Regions from separate parts of the Homo sapiens genome. Here regions 1 and 2 are each linked to region 3. The links are contacts of gene promoters, found by promoter capture Hi-C in blood cells and fetal thymus (Javierre and others, 2016). All regions are on one chromosome and are shown on one strand. The core of a region is centred on a gene start or on the middle of the fragment in contact, and the rest is flanking DNA. Distances in the headings are between cores, read along the strand shown. Region 1 has its middle 12 kb from the start of RNU1-2. Region 2 overlaps CROCC (ciliary rootlet coiled-coil, rootletin). Region 3 holds the start of NECAP2 (NECAP endocytosis associated 2).

What was found. Contacts are between HindIII fragments. The CHiCAGO score rates a contact against its expected background, and 5 or more counts as called.
Region 1: a contact is called between a fragment that was not itself captured here and the fragment with the promoter of NECAP2 in region 3, in 1 of 17 cell types (naive B cells). The highest score is 5.8, in naive B cells.
Region 2: a fragment that was not itself captured here is called in contact with the fragment with the promoter of NECAP2 in region 3 in 5 of 17 cell types (total CD8 T cells, naive CD8 T cells, M1 macrophages and 2 more); the score reaches 7.6 in total CD8 T cells.

What each region holds. Positions count from the first base shown.
Region 1 is chr1:16,906,523-16,909,222 of GRCh38, forward strand. No RefSeq gene overlaps it. Among named protein-coding and RNA genes, the nearest start is that of RNU1-2, 12 kb to the left of the region's middle. The HindIII fragment of the contact is 606 bases long and covers 1,079-1,684 here.
Region 2 is chr1:16,923,809-16,926,508 of GRCh38, forward strand. It overlaps CROCC (ciliary rootlet coiled-coil, rootletin), which reads left to right. Exons shown (of 37, transcript NM_014675.5): 3 at 517-671. Among named protein-coding and RNA genes, the nearest start is that of CROCC, 3.2 kb to the left of the region's middle. RefSeq lists enhancers at 37-647, 2,477-2,700. The HindIII fragment of the contact is 6,523 bases long and covers 1-2,700 here.
Region 3 is chr1:16,439,441-16,442,140 of GRCh38, forward strand. NECAP2 (NECAP endocytosis associated 2) reads left to right here and starts at 1,284. Exons shown (of 8, transcript NM_018090.5): 1 at 1,284-1,413. The coding sequence starts at 1,322. The HindIII fragment of the contact is 8,327 bases long and covers 1-2,700 here.

The DNA.
Region 1 (2,700 bases), core at 132-2,631, 470 kb after region 3:
TGCTTTTCACTATAGCATTCATGGGAGTTTGCAGGATTTCTGTGCTGGGGGGAACGTGTACTCAGCTCATACAGCCAAGTAGAAATTGTACTTGGAACTGGTGCCGTTGGGTTGTAGACATAACATGCTTGCTGTTTGTATGGGAAGGGCTTTGCCAGTGCTCTGTGCCCCTGTGCAGGGCATCCAGGCCTGCAGGTCAGAACGGCAGTCTCACCTATGAGTTTGTGTAATACGCAGCAATTCTCCCTGGAATATAAGATGGGTGGTCTTGTGAGGTTCCTACAAGTAAGAAGACAAATTTCCCTTCAGTTTGTATTGACAAAATTCAAAATTAATAATAACAGCCCAACCTCTTGAATGATAAATGTCCTTTACATTGACAGACCAGAACTGCCCTGCTTGCCTCAGCTCCTCTGTGCAGGTGCAGCTCACAATTCCCCCCACACAGGTCATTTCCTCCCTGCTTTCTCCAAAAGAGGGAGACAGCAGTTCTGCAGGACCACAGGGCTCAAGGCCTTCCAGGGCCAAAAATCTCAGAAGAAGTTGCCCGTTCTGCCTGTACCTCACGACTGACCTAGAAATGGCCTTTGCTAGGAGCAAAGTAGGGGGAAATGGTCGCCAGAGCTGGGGCCTGGGTACTGGGCCAGGTTACCCCACAGGAGGGGAAGTACTCAGGGTTAGAGGGGGCCAAGCACCAAGACCTCAGCATCCTCAACCTCCAAAAGGACTCAGAGAGATGCAGAAACCGAGACAGGGTTCCTCTTTCAAGGAAAGAGACTTTTGAGGAAGACCCCAGGGCTCTGAACCAAAATCCAGATTTTTCCCCATCTGCAGCTTAATTCCACCTTAGTTGGTGCAACTTCATCCTTCCCCTATGCTCAGGACAAAAAACAGTTCTTCTATAGGCTGGTCATTCTCTGGCCCCATACATCCTATTGGTCAGAAAATTATGTTTTTTCTTTGGTTAACTGCAGACTTTGGTCTGCACAGTCTTTTTCTTTCTTGGTCTGAAAACCACCCAGTAGTCCCATATGTAGCTTTTTTGGATAAACCTAGAAATTGACCCTGCTGGTCTTAAAGCTTGAAACTTAATATTTGTTTCGTCTGAGTTCCTTCCTCAGGAAACAACCTTCAGGCCTCTCAAAAAAGCCATCAAAGAACTGAAATTCATCCAGACAATGAGATGCTGGGACCCCTCATTCATCATGATTGCTTCCTTGCTCCTCCCTAGTTCCTGTTTTCTTACACATTGTTACATTTCTTCCCTGCCATATAAACCTCTGGTTTTGTTGGTCAGGGAGATGGATTTGAGACTGAGTTCTCATCTCCCCCACTGCAGCACCCTATTAAAGCGCCTTCCTTGGCAATAATCATCTCGGTGATTGGCTTTCTCTGTGGCAACCAGCAGGAATCCCAGATCTCTGAATTTTGGCAAAGGAGTCTCCTGATAAAGGTGGGATGGATTCTACTGACCAACATCAAAACGATCAGACATTTGAAAGCCTTAATCTCAGGGTCGGGGTTTGGGCCGCCCTTGGGCCTTTTCCTTGGGCCTAACCATTAAAATCAGCCTAGCCAGGTCTGTCTTCCAGGCACAGGGGTAGGGCCAGATACTCCTGATGCTTTTTGACGCTTCTCCCACTGGGTGGGCAACAACCCTCCCCTTCCCTGTGACCTGCAGAGAAGCTTCAGGGGGCGTTTATTCAATTTGCTAGGAGCCTACAAAGCACAGGTACACGGTGACTCTGTGGTTCCCACTGCACCTGCCACTCTCCTTGGTCCCCTCACTGTCTCTGGCAGGCAGTAATGTTCTGGGTGAGCTTGGGTGCTGAAGACACCCAGGCAGGGAGGGTAGGGAAAGGCACCAGCCCCTTAGGTCCTGCGCATTAGGGATCCAAAAAACATCTGAAGAAACAGAAAGGGAGCGTTGGAAGTAGATCAAAGGGAAAGAAAGAAATCCTAGGAGATTTCCTATCTGAAGGCACCATGAAGAGAAAGTCCGCCTCCTCTGGGCCGCGTCCTCCTGTTGCAGGTGAACCGAGTTCCGGTCTCCATTGGAAACCAAAGCAGGTAACTTTGCCCTGACTCCTAGTTAGGAAGCCATGCTTTGTCCTCCCCTGTTTAGCACTTGATCCTGTAGCACTTGATTGTCTCTCCCTGGCTTTCTATGGATTCCAGAGATGCAACTGAGAAGTTTGTTTTTAATGCACTTTTCCTTAAAGTAAGAGTATTTCAGGCCGGGCACGGTGGCTTACACCTGTAATCCCAACACTTTGGGAGGCAGAGGTGGGCATTTTACTTGAGGTCAGGAGTTCGAGACCAGCCTGGCCAACATGGCGAAACTCTGTCTCTACGAAAAATACAAAAATTAGCCAGGTATGTTGGCACCGGCCTGTAGTCCCAGCTACTCGAGAGGCTGAGGCAAGAGAAACCTGTGAACATGGGAAGGGGAAGTTGCAGTGAACTGATATCAAAAAAAAAAAAAGTATCTTTTGGCAAAGGAAATGATTTCTGACAGGTTTTGCACTTAAGACACTCAGGTGTGAGGAAAACATGAAAACCACTATGCTAGGGAAAGCAAATGCTGTTGAGAATGTCTCATAAACACAAATTACATGTCAGCAGGTAGGTTTGACCCTCAGGTTGGGCACATTTTACTTTAAGTTCACTGTCGGTGGAACTTAAGATGAATCTAAGACA
Region 2 (2,700 bases), core at 110-2,609, 480 kb after region 3:
TAGCTGGGACTACAGGCATACACCACCATGCCCAGCTAATTTTTGTATTTTTAGTAGAGACAGGGCTTCGCCGTGTTGGCCAGGCTAGTCTCAAACTCCTGACCTCAGGTGATCCTCCTATCTCGACTCCCAAAGTGCTGGGATTACAGGCGTGAGTCCGTGCCCGCCCCACCCATATTACAGATAAGTAAATCTGAGGCCCCGGAGAAGAAGACTAATTGGAAAAGGAGGGAGCAAGAACTCAGGGGTCTCCTGGCTCCTAGACTGAGTGTCTCTCCTGCACCTCCCAAACCTGCTGGGCCACACTTTAGCTGGAGTTGTGTTCACTTTACGTCCAGCTTTGTATCCCCTCCTTGCCTTCCTCCCTGTTCTCAGCTCTGTTTGCAGGCCTGGTGCTGCAGCCATTCCCATCTGGACTCCTCCCAGGGGCCTGGATGGTTTTCTTGCCCTCCCTGTTGGGGGGAGGATGTCCCACTGGACCCAGAAGCCAACCATGTGCCCACTGTCCCTTGCCAGTCCTGCTGCCGGCCACAGAGATGGCATCGCTGCTGTCGCTGCAGGAGGAGAACCAGCTGCTGCAGCAGGAGCTGTCCCGCGTGGAGGACCTGCTGGCCCAGAGCCGTGCCGAGCGCGATGAGCTCGCCATTAAGTACAATGCGGTCAGCGAGAGGGTGGGTGCCGCCCAGGTGGTGGACTAGGCCAGGGTTCCCCTCGTTCAAGGGCAGGGAGGCATCTAGACCAGGCCCACACACGGGGCAAAAGATGGGCCCTGGAGTCAGGTTGGCCTGGGCTTGGATTGAGGCTCTGCCACCTTGAGTGGCGTTGAGCAAATCACTATGCTCTTTAAGCCTGTTTTCTGTAGTGGGGATTGTAATGGGACGTGGAATTGTAGGAATCAAGGAGATAATAGAATAAAGTGCCTGGCACCAGGGGTATTTTGTTCCCATCTGTCCCAGGCCTGTTAGGGGTGTGGGACACGGAGAATGAGATCCCTAAAGATTCCTGCCCCTTGAGTTTCTGGGCATCTCCCATTGCCACGGGCCTTGGGGTTGAGGCGGTGGCTGGATGCTGGCTCGAGGCTGGTGTGGGCACCCGCGGTGTTCTGCAGCCCATCTGGGGCAGCCACAAGACCTGCCGCCACTGCCTATTGGAATGAGTTCCAGGCAGGGAAGGAAGGAGAAGCAGGCCTGTCTTCATGTCCAGGCAGGATTCACATCACCCGTGCTGCAGGCTTGTGGGGGTCCCAGGGTGTGGGGCGGGAGCTGGGTGTGAGCCGGTGCGAGGGGTGCGGGATGCTCTTGATGCACTGTCTGCTTTGGGCCTCCGGGTGGCCGGGAGGTGGCCCTGGGAAGTTGGTGGTGGCTGAAGATTGGTAAGGGACACTCGCAGCTGGGACAGAGTGTATGTGTGCAGATGAGAGGCATGCAGGTGGCAATAACGTATTAACAGTAGCTACTGTTTATTGAGTGCCTACTATGTGCCAGGCGCGTGCTGAGTGTTTCACATTTAATACACCAAGGTCGGGACCATTATGATGCCCATGTAACAGAGGAGAAAACAGAGGCTCAGGGAGGGGAAGCACCATGCTGGGGGCACACAGCCAGTTAAAGTTAGACACCAGGTCTTCCAACTCCCAGCCCAGGGCTCTGTTTGGTTTCTAAACTAACCCAGTCTAGAAACAAAGTTCTGAAGTTTCATTTCCTGTGTATGGGAAGAGACACTGGGCTAGGGATTTCAGGGCACAGCTGGCCCCCACAAAGTTGGAAGGGACCCAGAGAGGCAGGGGCTGGCCCAGGGTCCCCTGTGTGGTAGTGGCAGAGCTAGGGTTGGCATGGGACCCCTGAGCTGGACTTGTCCAGGCTGGAGCCCGCATTGGCAGGAGGGTGTGTGTTCCTGTGTATGACTGTGGGGTGTGCCCGTGTCCTGGGATTTGCCTGGCTGGACAAACCCACGACTAGTTGGGACTTGTAGAGGAGCAGAGTAGGCGGCCCGCAGTGGCCCCTGGCATGAGGACAGTGGAGAGCTCGTTTCCCCAGGGTCTGCAGCGGGTGTGTAGGGCACGCTGGCCCCAGTCATGAATTGTGGGTGGTGATGGGGCCCTGAGCCAGGCACCCCTTTCTTTTGGTCCATGCATGGCACAGTGCCACACCCCCAGGGCCGCCTCTTAAATGCCACCTTCTGAAGCTAGCCCTGCCCCCAGGTTGGCAGGGAAGGGAAGAGGTGGGAGGTAGCAGGTTCCTCCTCTGCTGGGACACAGCTGCTGGGGCTGGGACTGCAGCACAGGGGGTCTGGGTTAGTCTAGAAAGCTCCCTCCTGTGGTTAGTGGGGGCCCAAATGGCACGCAGAGGGCGCCCGCTGCTTCAGTTGTCCTCTATCCACCATGGTTTGAATGAGGCCCCACCTGGAGGCAGGGGTGGAACAGGAATGACCTCAAAGGCCTTTCCTGGAGGGTGGGTCCCCAGAGAACTTCAGAGCCTAGAGATCACCTCATCACAGATAGGGAAAGTAAGTCCGGGAGAGGGGCATGATAGGCCCAAGGTCAGTGGTGGTCCTGGGATGAGACCCTTGGTCCAGGGCTCTGCAGTTGGGCAACATTCTCTTTCCCTGCCACCCCCTTGTCCCCATGGCCACAGGTGGCAGTGCCTGCCCCTGTGGCCCTCACTGGCATGTTGGGCTGGGTTGGTGGGCAGTCAGCGAGAT
Region 3 (2,700 bases), core at 34-2,533:
AGGCTTGGTGGTGGGTGCCTGTAATCCCAGCTACTCGGGAGGCTGAGGCAGGAGAATCGCTTGAACCCGGGAGGTGGAGGTTGCAGTGAGCCGAGATTGCACCACTGCACTCCAGCCTGGGCGGCAGAGTGAGACTTTGTCTGAAGAAAAAAAAAAAAAAAAGTAAAAAGGAGAAGGAGAGTGAGAGAGAAAAGGAAAGAAGGGGTGGGGAAAGTTTGGGGTATTCAGTGAATCAGAAGTTTGGGATCAGCTTCACCCCCACATAGGGGCTGGCACATTGCAGGCACTCAACTCAATGAGAGAATGGTAGGGAAGGAGGGATTTTGAGAATTTGGCTAGGGTAGACATTGTATCTCCCAGAATATTCTGGGAGAAATCGAAGTTAAGACTGGAATTCTTCTTCTTCTTTTTTTTTTTTTTTGAGACAGAGTCCCGCTCTGTCACCCAGGCTGAGGTGCAGTGGCACAATTTCAGCTCACTGCAACTTCCGCATTCCGGGTTCAAGCGATTCTAGTGCCTCAGTCTCCCAACTAGCTAGGACTACAGACACACGCCACCAAGCCCGGCTAATTTTTGTATTTTTAGTAGAGACGGGGTTTCACCATGTTGGCCAGGCTGGTCTCGAACTCCTGACCTCAGGTGATCCGCCCGCCTCAGCCTCCCAAAGTGCTGGGATTACAGGCGTGAGCTACCAAGCCCGGCCTGGAATTCTTCTTAAATTACTTGTGTTACTAAACTTTACTTCTTTGAATACAACTCGTTGTTGAGGTTTGGCCACACGGGGCCCTGAGCATATAAGTGGGTTCCCCTAGGGGAAGCATGGAGGGTGGTAGGGTAATGGCATCTATTTAGTCTGGTGGGTCAGGTGCCAGCTGAGCCTTACAGTCAGGAGAGGGAAGGATATTCAGGCAGAGGAGGCGCCGAGGCAAAGGCTGGAGGACAGAGATACTGCAGGGTGGGCTACAGCTTTGCCTCTCGGTCAACTGGGCCCCAGGCCTAAGAAACTGAAGCGATGGGGATGATCCACACCCAGACCACGGGTTACAGAGGGGTCTGTCCATGGCGGGCGCAGGGCGCTTTCTTTGCGTCGGAGGGTGTCTGGAGGGAAGGAGAAGCCTCTGGAGGGAGGGAGAAGCCTCCGGAGGTCGCCCGCCACGTGTCTTGAGCCGGGTTTCCAGCAGAGGGCGCACAAACGAGGCGGTGCTGAGGCCCGCGAGCTGCCGCTCTAGCCGAAACCTGGTCAGAGAGTCGCACCGCTTCCGTCCGTCGGACAGAGGAACGGTGGAAGTCGCCGGAAGTTCGGTGGGCTCCAGGCGTCGCGATGGAGGAGAGCGGGTACGAGTCGGTGCTCTGTGTCAAGCCTGACGTCCACGTCTACCGCATCCCTCCGCGGGCTACCAACCGTGGCTACAGGTGACTACCCACCGCCAGACCAGGCTAGCTCCAATTTAACCCTTTCTCCGCCACCCGGACACACCCACTGCGGGAACCGAGGACAGCCCTGGCCAGTTTTGGGGCGAGGGGGAGCTAATGCTGCTGCTTCTTCCAGTTCCAGGCCCGAGCAGGGAGGTGGATCCAGAGTTTCGCCCGTCTCAGTTCGACGCACGGGACTCCTGGCGGCGGGGAGGGCGTTAAAGCCGTATCTAGCGCTTAGGGACCCCGGTGGGCTGCCGGGTACCCTAAACTTGGTCGGGGGTGGTGATGTCACAGACGCTTCTCTTTCAGCGCTAACCGGTGGCCTTGAAGGGATCCTCGAAAAGCCTTAAGCGGGGAGGTGCCCTATCACAGACGGAAATCCCCGAGAGGAGGGGAGGGAGCCCAGAGCCGGCTGAAAGGACCGGTCCCGGGGAGCTTTAAGGTGACGGTCGAAGCCCAGGGACCCCTTCCTACCCAGATCCCTTCGCACGAATTTCACCCTTGATCACAGCCTGGAGCAGTTGGGAGGACCCCTTCTATATTTCTCTGGTCTCTACCTGAGACGAATAAACACACACGCTTGTAAACATACTGAGTATCTCTGCAAAGGAACACAGGAAACTGCCCTAGGGGAGGGGAACCGCCCTTGGAAGGAAACTTCCTTTCCCTTTTGTGCTGTTTGCGTTTTACTACTCTTTGTATGCGTTATCTATCAAAACGACGAAAAATATTAAAAGAAAAAAGATACACTTCATACAGACAACCTGGCCTATGGCTATTTTGTGCCACTGAGTGGTGGTGGGGAGTGCTCGTATTTGCGGGGGCCTGGGTGGCTCTTGAAGGCGATGGTTGTCCAAGTTTTTCGGAAATACAGGATTGGTCTGCACCCCAAGAATGATGGAACGTCCACATTTCCTCTTGTTACTTTCCAGTTGTGTTACCGTGGGCTCATAGCTGATCTTATGGTGAAAAGATGCGTTAGTGAACATTACATTCATGACATATTTTAAAATAGTATAAAAACAAAAACAACAATAACCAAAATACATTTGTTTTCTGTCATCAAACTGTGGTTGGACCATCAAACCATTGATGGTCGTCTAGCCCCATCTCCTGTTGGGTCTTTTTTTTTTTTTTTTGAGACAGAGTTTCCCTCTTGTTGTCCAGGCTAGAGTGCAATGGTGCGATCTCGGCTCACTGCAACCTCCGCCTCCCGGATTCAAGCGATTCTCCTGCCTCAGCCTCCCGAGTAGCTGGGATTACAGCCATACACCACCACACCCG